Linked DNA regions of Homo sapiens: regions 1 and 3 are each linked to region 2. The links are contacts of gene promoters, found by promoter capture Hi-C in human tissues and cell types (Jung and others, 2019). All regions are on one chromosome and are shown on one strand. Each heading gives the region's core, a stretch centred on a gene start or on the middle of the fragment in contact. The rest is flanking DNA. Distances are from core to core; before and after follow the strand shown.

Region 1 (2,955 bases), core at 228-2,727, 1.0 Mb after region 2:
TTCTGATTGACAAACTAATTAAATAGAACTGTGTCTTAGAATTGTAAAATCCCGCTCATCTACTTCAGCAAATGTCTTTATTTTTAAAATGAATCTAATCATTTTCTCTGATAAAATGAAATATGCAAATGATTTATAAAGAATCCAGAACCAAACAAATTATAAATAATATTATTTAATAGAAGAGCTTTGTCACATGTAATCATTGTCCAAAGGCCAATGTAAAATGCTTATTTAAATGTAGACTTTGAAGTGAAACCGCCCTTGTTTTGAGTCTTCTAGGTGATCTTGTATAAACTACCTTGCCAATTAAACCAATTGTTTTCATATTTAAGATGGGGCTAATACCTCAAATCAAATGATCGTTGAGTAAAAAAATGATGCCAAAACAACATAGTATTTGGCACGTAAGAATATCCTTGTTGTATATACATTATTGACTGACTAAATAAAAGTTATTTCTCCAATCTTGTTAAAATCTACAAGACTAAGAATTGACTGTTAGATTTCTAAATTACACACATATTATATATTCTTAAATTATGAACTTTTCTTATAAAGGTTAAACCACTTTACCATATTAAATTGCTCTCTGTCTTTTGTGACCAAATTAATTCTTCATTTAAGATTCTTTTTTCAAAGAAATTTACAACAAAGACTCTAATTGGCCTCCATGGATGCTGTTTTCATTGCAGGAATAGTTCAATGGGTACACAACAGAGGCTTCTATTGTTTGTCTATGCTTCATTTTGTTTAGGTTTTATTTTTGTGGGGTTTTTTTGGTTTGTTTTTGGGGGGTTTTTGTTTGTTTCTTTGGTATAGATCAGTGTAAGAAGAGCCACATTTCCTGAACTTTAGATTCATCTTATTATACTTTTTTTTTTTGCAAATCTTAGTGACTATTAAAGGTCTTTAATGTCATTAATGACTGTAAGACATCACAGAAATTGAAAATTAGTGAAGAATTATTGCTTCAATTCAGCTTTCAAAAAATACGTGACAAGCTTTTCTCCCCTTTTAGTTATCAGAAACACACACACACACACACACACACACACACACACACATTCCATTTTGTATACACAAAGTTTATTGATAGACAAAATATGTTGTAGGGGGATGGGTTCTTTTTTTTTTTTTTTTTTTTTTTGAGACGGAGTTTCGCCTTTGTTGCCCAGGCTGGAGTGCGATCACACAATCTCGGCTCACCGCAACCTCCGCCTCCCGGGTTCAAGCAATTCTCCTGCCTCAGCCTCCTGAGTGGCTGGGATTAAAGGCATGTGCCACCGCACCCAGCTAATTTTGTATTTTTAGTAGAGACGGGGTTCCTCCGTGTTGGTCAGGCTGGTCTCAAACTCCCAACTTCAGGTGATCCGCCCACCTCGGCCTCCGAAAGTTCTGGGATTACAGTCATGAGCCACCACGCCCGGCCGGGAATGGGTTCTTCAGCAAAATTATAATGTGGATCACTTGCACTTGTAATTCAAAGACGTGTCACATATTAAATATTGTGCAATTCAGTTTTGGATAAGTATTGAATTCACTCTTATACTTACATAATGCCGGGAGGAATTTATATCATTTTATATTAAAATACATAATGAGTCCAACATGTTCTTGTTTACTGAGGCAAAACTCCCACTGAAGTCTTGGGGCTCTTCGGAAGTTATTGCAAATTTACCAGTAAGAGTGTGTGGTGAAATTAGGCTCCCTAAGCAAAATGTGTTAATAATCATGATAAATGAGTTGAAATTATAATTATTTATTTAAGTTTACTTAATAAAAGCAAAACTTCAAGGAAAATAATACACAACTATTGTGTGCATTTAGGATAAGCATTTTCATTCAATCTTTTAAATAGCCGTAGGTATTGTTAGAAGCAGCTCACTAAATGACTTGGCCAAGATCAAATAATGAGTAACTTACAGAATCACAGAATTGTGATTTTTTTTCTTAAATTGTTTTTTAGAGACAAGCAGTCTGTTTGTCACTTGTTTTTTAGAGACAAACAAGCAGAGAAACAATCGTTTTCTGTCACCTAGGCTGGAGTTCAGTGGCAGGATCATAGCTCACTGCAGCCTTAAACTCCTGGGCTCAAGCAATCTTCTTGTCTCATTCTACCCGAGTAGCTGTAATTATTGTGGCTATATATGATATTTCTATGTTATTCTCTGAGCACTTTCTTCCTTATATATATTAATATATTATATTCAGAATTTTTATATTCAGAGGCAAAAAATGGAGTAAATAATTTTTTAAATGTATTTAGACATGTCTTGCCATGTTGCCCAGGATAGTCTGGGTAGAACTGTGATTTTAACTTAGAATCTTCTTTTTCAAATTTCCAGATTTATTTACTCTATTTTTGTCTCTGAATACAACATAATGTTATATGCATATAAGAAAGTGCTTAGAGAACAACACAGAAAAAAAATTGTAGTCCATCATAATTACAAATGCATAAATAGATTCTCACACTTTTAAATGAGTCATGTTGTCTTATTATCTCCTGATCTGCATGCTCTTATTTGTAGACAACTGGTCTGAGTCTTTCTTCCTGGGAAATGATTACCTTAATCATAAAGAAACCCTGCTGGATGGGCAATCTTATTTATATACCTTTTCTCCTCTGTTTCCATGGGAATCTCACCTGTCTCTCATCTCCAGAAATCCCCAAACAGTATTAGAAGCCAATTGAGTTCCTCCAACTCTGATTATTCCTCCTAAGGGCGTCTGAACCAACTATTCTTTGCTTTGAATCCCACATCTTGCCTTTGGCAAAGTCTTGTTTGTGAGAGTAGATTTATTTCTTCTGCATCTTTGACTCCGCTTTCTCTACTGACTCTTTTATCTCTTCATATGAACATATTCATTTTATTTTTTTCTCCAGCTTAAAATAAAAAAACTTTTATATTAACTTATGCTTATATTTACTTCATTCATCTCAAAATCATG
Region 2 (2,823 bases), core at 160-2,659:
AGAGATTGATGTAGCTAAAATTCAAGATGGAGGTCACCTCTGGGAGAGACCTTAGGAGGTAGAATAGAAAAGCATTCCCTAGCTGGATTCAGAAATACCTAATATTTTAATCCTTAAATGGGAGGCATATTGTAATTTATAAATTATATCTGCCACATCTATTTTTGTATATGTGTCAAATGTTACATTAAAAAATAACATAAGCCATTTAGTTTACCCTAGTTAAGACCCATTCCAATAGTAGTCATTAGATCCCAGAGTCCCAAGAAATATACTGAAGTGTCTACTTAATACAAGTTCTATTATGTTAGGGACCACTACATAAAGGAACAAGTTACAAGCACAATGTTTAAACAACCAGAACCTAGTTCTTTATTTAAACATTACCTGCCGCTCAGTGACCTCTGAAGGATGATGTTGTCTTGGTCCTTCCTATATAATAAACAAAATTAAAACACATTCACACAAAAAAGTCATTAAAAACAGTAAATTAATTATTATAATAGGAAGCCTATGCTACTTTTAAATTTATGTATTATATGAATCATTTCAACTATAAGAAGCAGGTTAAAAAAACAAAAAGAAAAAAGTCAAGTTCAGAATAAAAACATCTAAGATAAAAATTGTGGTGGAAGATGGAGACGATATTATGATAAAAAAGAACCAGCTGTGAACCACCTTACAGATAAAAGGCAGAGTATAGAGATATATTCGGGAGGGAAAGAATGTACGAGAAATCGAAAAATGCATGTTTCTGCTTCTACAGGACTTCAGTGGTGCTATTGAGCAATCTAGTCTTCAATCTGGTTTCAAAGCCTAGGAGTAATTGGTGATGTGATTGAGATCGTATGGTTTTCTGAAGCACAGGGAGCTTGGCTGTTAGTTTTCGAGATTCTCACCACTTCCTCTATTTCTTGATTGTACCTTAAATAACTCCTCCTTCACTCGTTTTGATCCAATCTTTTAACCAGAAGACCCAAGAGCAATCTGTTCCACATCTGGCAATTGAGAACTTTATCCTGCTCCCTACTTCTGTAATTTCCACTCCACCTCCTAGGGCAGGCCAATGGGGCAGTCAACATACAGGTGATGTACCTGACCCCTAAGCACACAGTGGGTGGAGCTTTTTCTTGTTTCAGAGGGGTCCAGCAGTCAGGATGTAGTCTGTCTACATCACCTGGAATTTCCCAACCCCCAGCACCAAACCACATTTACAAGAGTTAGAAGCACCATGGCCAAGGCCACAGTGGCCTGGAGCTCAAGGCACAGGACAGAGTGGCAGAGTTGAGGTTGTAGGCCCCAGCAGACTCACAGGGTTGACTTGGGAAGGCTCGATGTCCCAGCAATACAGGCACATGCCGTGGAGCCTTAGGGCGCCCCCTGACGCCTACTGCCTGTCCTGGACCAAATGATTATGGGGCCCCACACCCACAGCCTTCAAGCCCTGCCCCACCCAGTTCCATCACTATTCTCTTTATTCTTCTCCCTGCTATGGGCCCCACCCTTTCCCCAGTTGTATTCCAGTCCAGTGCAGGGAAGGCAAGGCCTCAAGTTGTCTGCAGTGTCTTTGAGTTATGGAAGTCAGTTTACCATAATTCCTTATATCCTATCCTTCTTCCTCAGAAAATTGCAGAATACCAATTTCCCACCTTTTCTACCCTTCATCTCTCTAGTCTCTCTCTTTATAAAGCCCCTTTCATTTGTTAACATATCTAGCTTAGTCTCCATGTTCTCTTACTTCAGACTGTCTATCTATTGTTAGGGTTCTCAATTCCACCACCTCATTGTTGTTCCTTCACAGCTTCTAGTTGGGCTGACCCAACTGTCTGCCTTCTTCCCATCTATCTATACCAGATGAAGTGAGGAGAAGCTTGAAGATGGCTGGAATACATATTTGTGACCCCAGATCTATTTATTTATTTATTTTCTTTTTTCTTTTTTTTTTTGGCCAAGTCTCTCTGTCGCCCAGGCTGGAGTGCAGTGCTACAATCTTAGCTCACTGCTACCTCCACCTCACTGCTACCTACACCTCGAGGGTTCAAGCAATTCTCCCATCTCAGCCTCCCGAGTAGCTGGGACTGCAGGCGCATGCCACAATGCCTGGCTAATGATTTTGTAGTTTTAGTAGAGACAGGGTTTTACCATATTGGAGGCTGTTCTCAAACTCCTGACCTCAGGTGATCCACCCGTCTTGCCCTCCCAAAGTGCTGAAATTACAGGCGTGAGCCACCAGGCCCGGCCGTGACCCCCAATTTAAACTGGGTCCTCAAAGCTGCTTAAGACTTTTATGTTGCACCAGCTTTTTTTGTGCTCTGCAGTATTCCCTTCAAATTGTCTTCTATTAAAATCTCTGAATCCACCAACACTCAGGCACTTCCAGTAGAAGTGGGACAATCCGTGCTTCACACTCTGATGCTGGTGAACATGTATAGAGCTTACTATGCTCAGCACTGTTACATGAATTTATATGTGTTAACTGATCAAGTCTTTAGACCACTCAAGGTGGGTAAGGGCATGATTATAATCACTGGGAAACAAGGCGCTAGCATGTTAAATTGCTTTCTTGAAGTTACGCTATTAGTAAGAGGGTGAGCTGGAATTTAAATCCAGGGTTGGCCCTTAGATCATGTGCTCCTAATTATGTGCTATGCTACCATTGCTTTTGAAGCCCTCACTGGGGCTACCTCAATACCACCTAAAATCCTATAACCTTGTCAATATCCACATTATCCTTTTCCCTGTAACCCTGTCGAAATGGAAAAAAAAATTGGTATCCCTTCTGTTGCCTCAAATAAATCTATCCATTTGCATTTGCATGCCATT
Region 3 (3,234 bases), core at 378-2,877, 1.7 Mb after region 2:
CCATTTTGTGGGAGAAATTATTACCTTAGTCACCAGCTAAATGCCTAAACATTTAGAAACTAGCTTCTGAAAATTGCTCAATTCAGGTTCATTCATATAAATATGTTTAGAGCTGTATCTGACACATATTAAATGAATCAATAAATACTAGCTTCTGTCATTTTCTTTCATTGTCTCATCTTCATCACCATTATTATGATATGTATGTATACATGTGTGTACAAAGACAACATATATATATATATTCTCATTACATGAATTCTTTAACATTTCCCTAGTTAGGGTGATGTGTATGAAAAATTTAATAGAAACCTACCATAAATCTGAAAGTTTTATTAATATTACCATATGAAACTTGCATTGTGGGGAAAAGTACACCACTTTGGATTTTCATATTTTTAAAGGAAACATAAAAGCATATCAAGGCACAAAACTAATTAAACCATGTCTCTCTTTACAATTACGACTCTTCAAATACGTTAGAAGCCCACAAGTAGGGGAGTGAAGTGTTATAGATTGAATGTTTGTTATGTCTCTCCCAAATTTACTTATTGAAACTCTATCCCTCCAATATGATGGTATTTGGAGATGGGGCCTTTGGGAGGCAATTAGGGTTAGATAAGGTCATTAGAGGGGATCCCTCATGATAGGTTTAATAACCTAATAAGAATAGACTTTGGAGAGATTGCTTGCTCTCTCTCTGTCTGTCATGTGCGGATGCAGCAAGAACCAAGACTAAGACACCTACAAGCCAGAAAGTGCCCTCTCACCTGGAACCAAATCAGCCTGCAGCTTGATCCTGGACCACCCAGCATCCAGAAGTGTGAGAAAATAAATTTCTGTTGTTTGAACCACTCAGTGTGTGGTATTTTATTATGTTAGCTTGAGCAGACTAATATAGCATGCCAACTGTCCTTTAGAAGAATCCTAAAATAATTTTTACCTTGGTACTAAGTTAACTCTGGAAAGATGGAACATGGGGGAGGATGTACTTGCAGATTAAAATTATTCAGCCACCAGCAGTATCTTTTATATGCTGATACTTATGGAATAATCGTTATGGATAATGGATGCAGTTATGACAGACTTTTAATAGAATCATATCCCTAAATAACACAAAACAAAAAAAAATTTGAAACAAAATAGACAAAACATAATTTAAATAATTGCTTAGCTATTCCAAAGATGTAAACGTGACACTTTAAGAAATGAGGTGATGGCCGGCTGGCCATGGTAGTTCACCTCTGTAATCCCAGCAGTTTGGGAGGCCAAGGCAGGTGGATCACCTGAGGCCAGGAGTTCAAGACCAGCCTGGCCAATATGGTGAAACCCCGTCTCTACTAAAAATACAAAAATTAGCCGGGCGTGGTGGTGGGCGCCTGTAATCCCAGCTACTTGGGAGGCTGAGGCAGGAGAATTGCTTGAACCCGGGAGACAGAAGTTGCAGTAAGCCAAGATTGCACCATTGCACTCCAGCCTGGGGGACAAGAGAGAGACTTCATCTCAAGGAAAAAAAAAAAAAAAAAAAAGGAGTGAGGTGATGGCATTCGCCTACAGCTTCTTCAGCCCAAAGGATTAGATATCGTATCATTGCTGGCTGCTTGAAGGAGAAATATTAAGTAAGTACATCTTAAACATAATTTGGCACTGTGTCCCTGACAGTTAACTTGGTGACTGTTGGCATCCTATATTCTATTTATAAACTTAATTTAGATCCACTGTGAGAACATCCTTGGGGCTGAGAAAAAGAAGTAGTCACTTTCTCACCTTTTACCATCTTCATTTTCAGTCTAACCTTTAGATTTAATGTGTATGGATGTTTTGTTGAATTCTCAGCTTGAGATTTCCACATGCCTGTATATTTGTCCACAAAACAATTGATTATGTTGACTACTGAAGACATGGAAACTATGCTTTGGATGCAGGTTGGGGGAAGAATATTAAGACTAAAAACAAAACTTTTATTATTCAAATGCTGCCTTATGCCACATAATCTCAGATGTCAAGTGATTACTGATAGTACACTGACAAGAATAATGATAAGAACCTAAGCTTTCAGAAAGACAAAGCATGAAGATAAGTACAGCCTAAAATTCCAAAAATTCTAAAATTAAGCAACTTTACCATCCTCAGCATAACTTCTTACTTCTATTTATATAAGAAAAAAAAAACACCTGTTAGTTTGTTGCCATAATAGGAAGTTCTGTTATTTATAATCACATATTTCTGAGACAGAATGGATTTATGTTTTCACAGAATTAATGGTATACCAAAAAGATGAATTCTTATTGAACTTAGTGTCATAAATAAGTCAGATGTCCATGCCAAAAAATGTTTCCCTAACAGTGATACTTATTGGAAGGAGAGTCTGCTAGGAAGCTAGAGATAACCTGAACATAAATTAAAATTAATAAGTGAAAGAGTGAGGACAGAGAAAATTAAAGATGAGATACAGCAAAGGAACTACAGTATTACTATCCTCACCCCCCCATACACAAACCACGTGTTCTCTTTGGTAGAAGAGAAAGTTTCTGAGTTACATTTCAGAATCATGGAGGAGCCCAGTGTACATGAGAGAATAGAACATGTATGACAGTCACTGCTGGATTTCAGAAGTCATGAGGTCATACCCACACCTGATGCTTTAGACAAGATCAGCCCTTAAGACACAAGAAAAAGGGAAAGTATGTCTTCAGGATTCTTATTTTTTTATGTAACATATACTCAACTTAGTTATTACTGAATGTTAAATCAATTTGGGGAATTTTCCAGTGTGTGAAAAAAAAAAGCTACTTCTTCCTATCATGAGGAGTGTATTGGGGCAGGGACAGTGGGGTAGATCTTTAATTTTCATAATCAATGAAACAAAATAATATGGGTGAAAACTGGGGAAAAAGTCTTTATTTGAGTGCTAGCCATAATTATACAGAAGATTTTGGCAGTATGCTAGTTTGCTAGTTTAACAATAAATGATAATCACTTTTATTCAAAAAAAATAGATGTTCTTTTATGCTTTTGAATGACTGTGTCACTTTTTTGGTGACAATCAATGCAAAAGACTACATTTATGTATCAGCGACACTTCAGAAAATAAATCTGTAGCTATGGTTTCCAAAGTATTATGGGGTTTGTTTTCTTTGAAATAATGAACAAAAAGAACAGCACACACACACACAGAAAAAAAAAAAACTAGAAAAATTTAGAATGGAATTGAAGGTGAAATGAGGACATGTG

What was found. The method cuts DNA at HindIII sites, captures the fragments that hold promoters and counts their contacts. A contact is called where the count stands out against the background at its distance.
Region 1: a contact is called between a fragment that was not itself captured here and the fragment with the promoter of CCDC179 in region 2, in 1 of the 25 tissues and cell types used here (heart right ventricle).
Region 3: a contact is called between a fragment that was not itself captured here and the fragment with the promoter of CCDC179 in region 2, in 1 of the 25 tissues and cell types used here (mesendoderm cells).

What each region holds. Positions count from the first base shown.
Region 1 is chr11:23,860,278-23,863,232 of GRCh38, forward strand. No RefSeq gene overlaps it. Among named protein-coding and RNA genes, the nearest start is that of LINC02726, 130 kb to the left of the region's middle. The HindIII fragment of the contact is 4,922 bases long and covers 1-2,955 here.
Region 2 is chr11:22,859,065-22,861,887 of GRCh38, forward strand. It overlaps CCDC179 (coiled-coil domain containing 179), which reads right to left and starts at 1,410. Exons shown (of 4, transcript NM_001195637.2): 1 at 1,313-1,410; 2 at 388-432. The coding sequence starts at 1,357. The region is part of intron 3 of LINC02718 (long intergenic non-protein coding RNA 2718); the gene reads left to right. The HindIII fragment of the contact is 9,229 bases long and covers 1-2,823 here.
Region 3 is chr11:24,539,749-24,542,982 of GRCh38, forward strand. The region is part of intron 1 of LUZP2 (leucine zipper protein 2); the gene reads left to right. Among named protein-coding and RNA genes, the nearest start is that of LUZP2, 44 kb to the left of the region's middle. The HindIII fragment of the contact is 5,551 bases long and covers 1-3,234 here.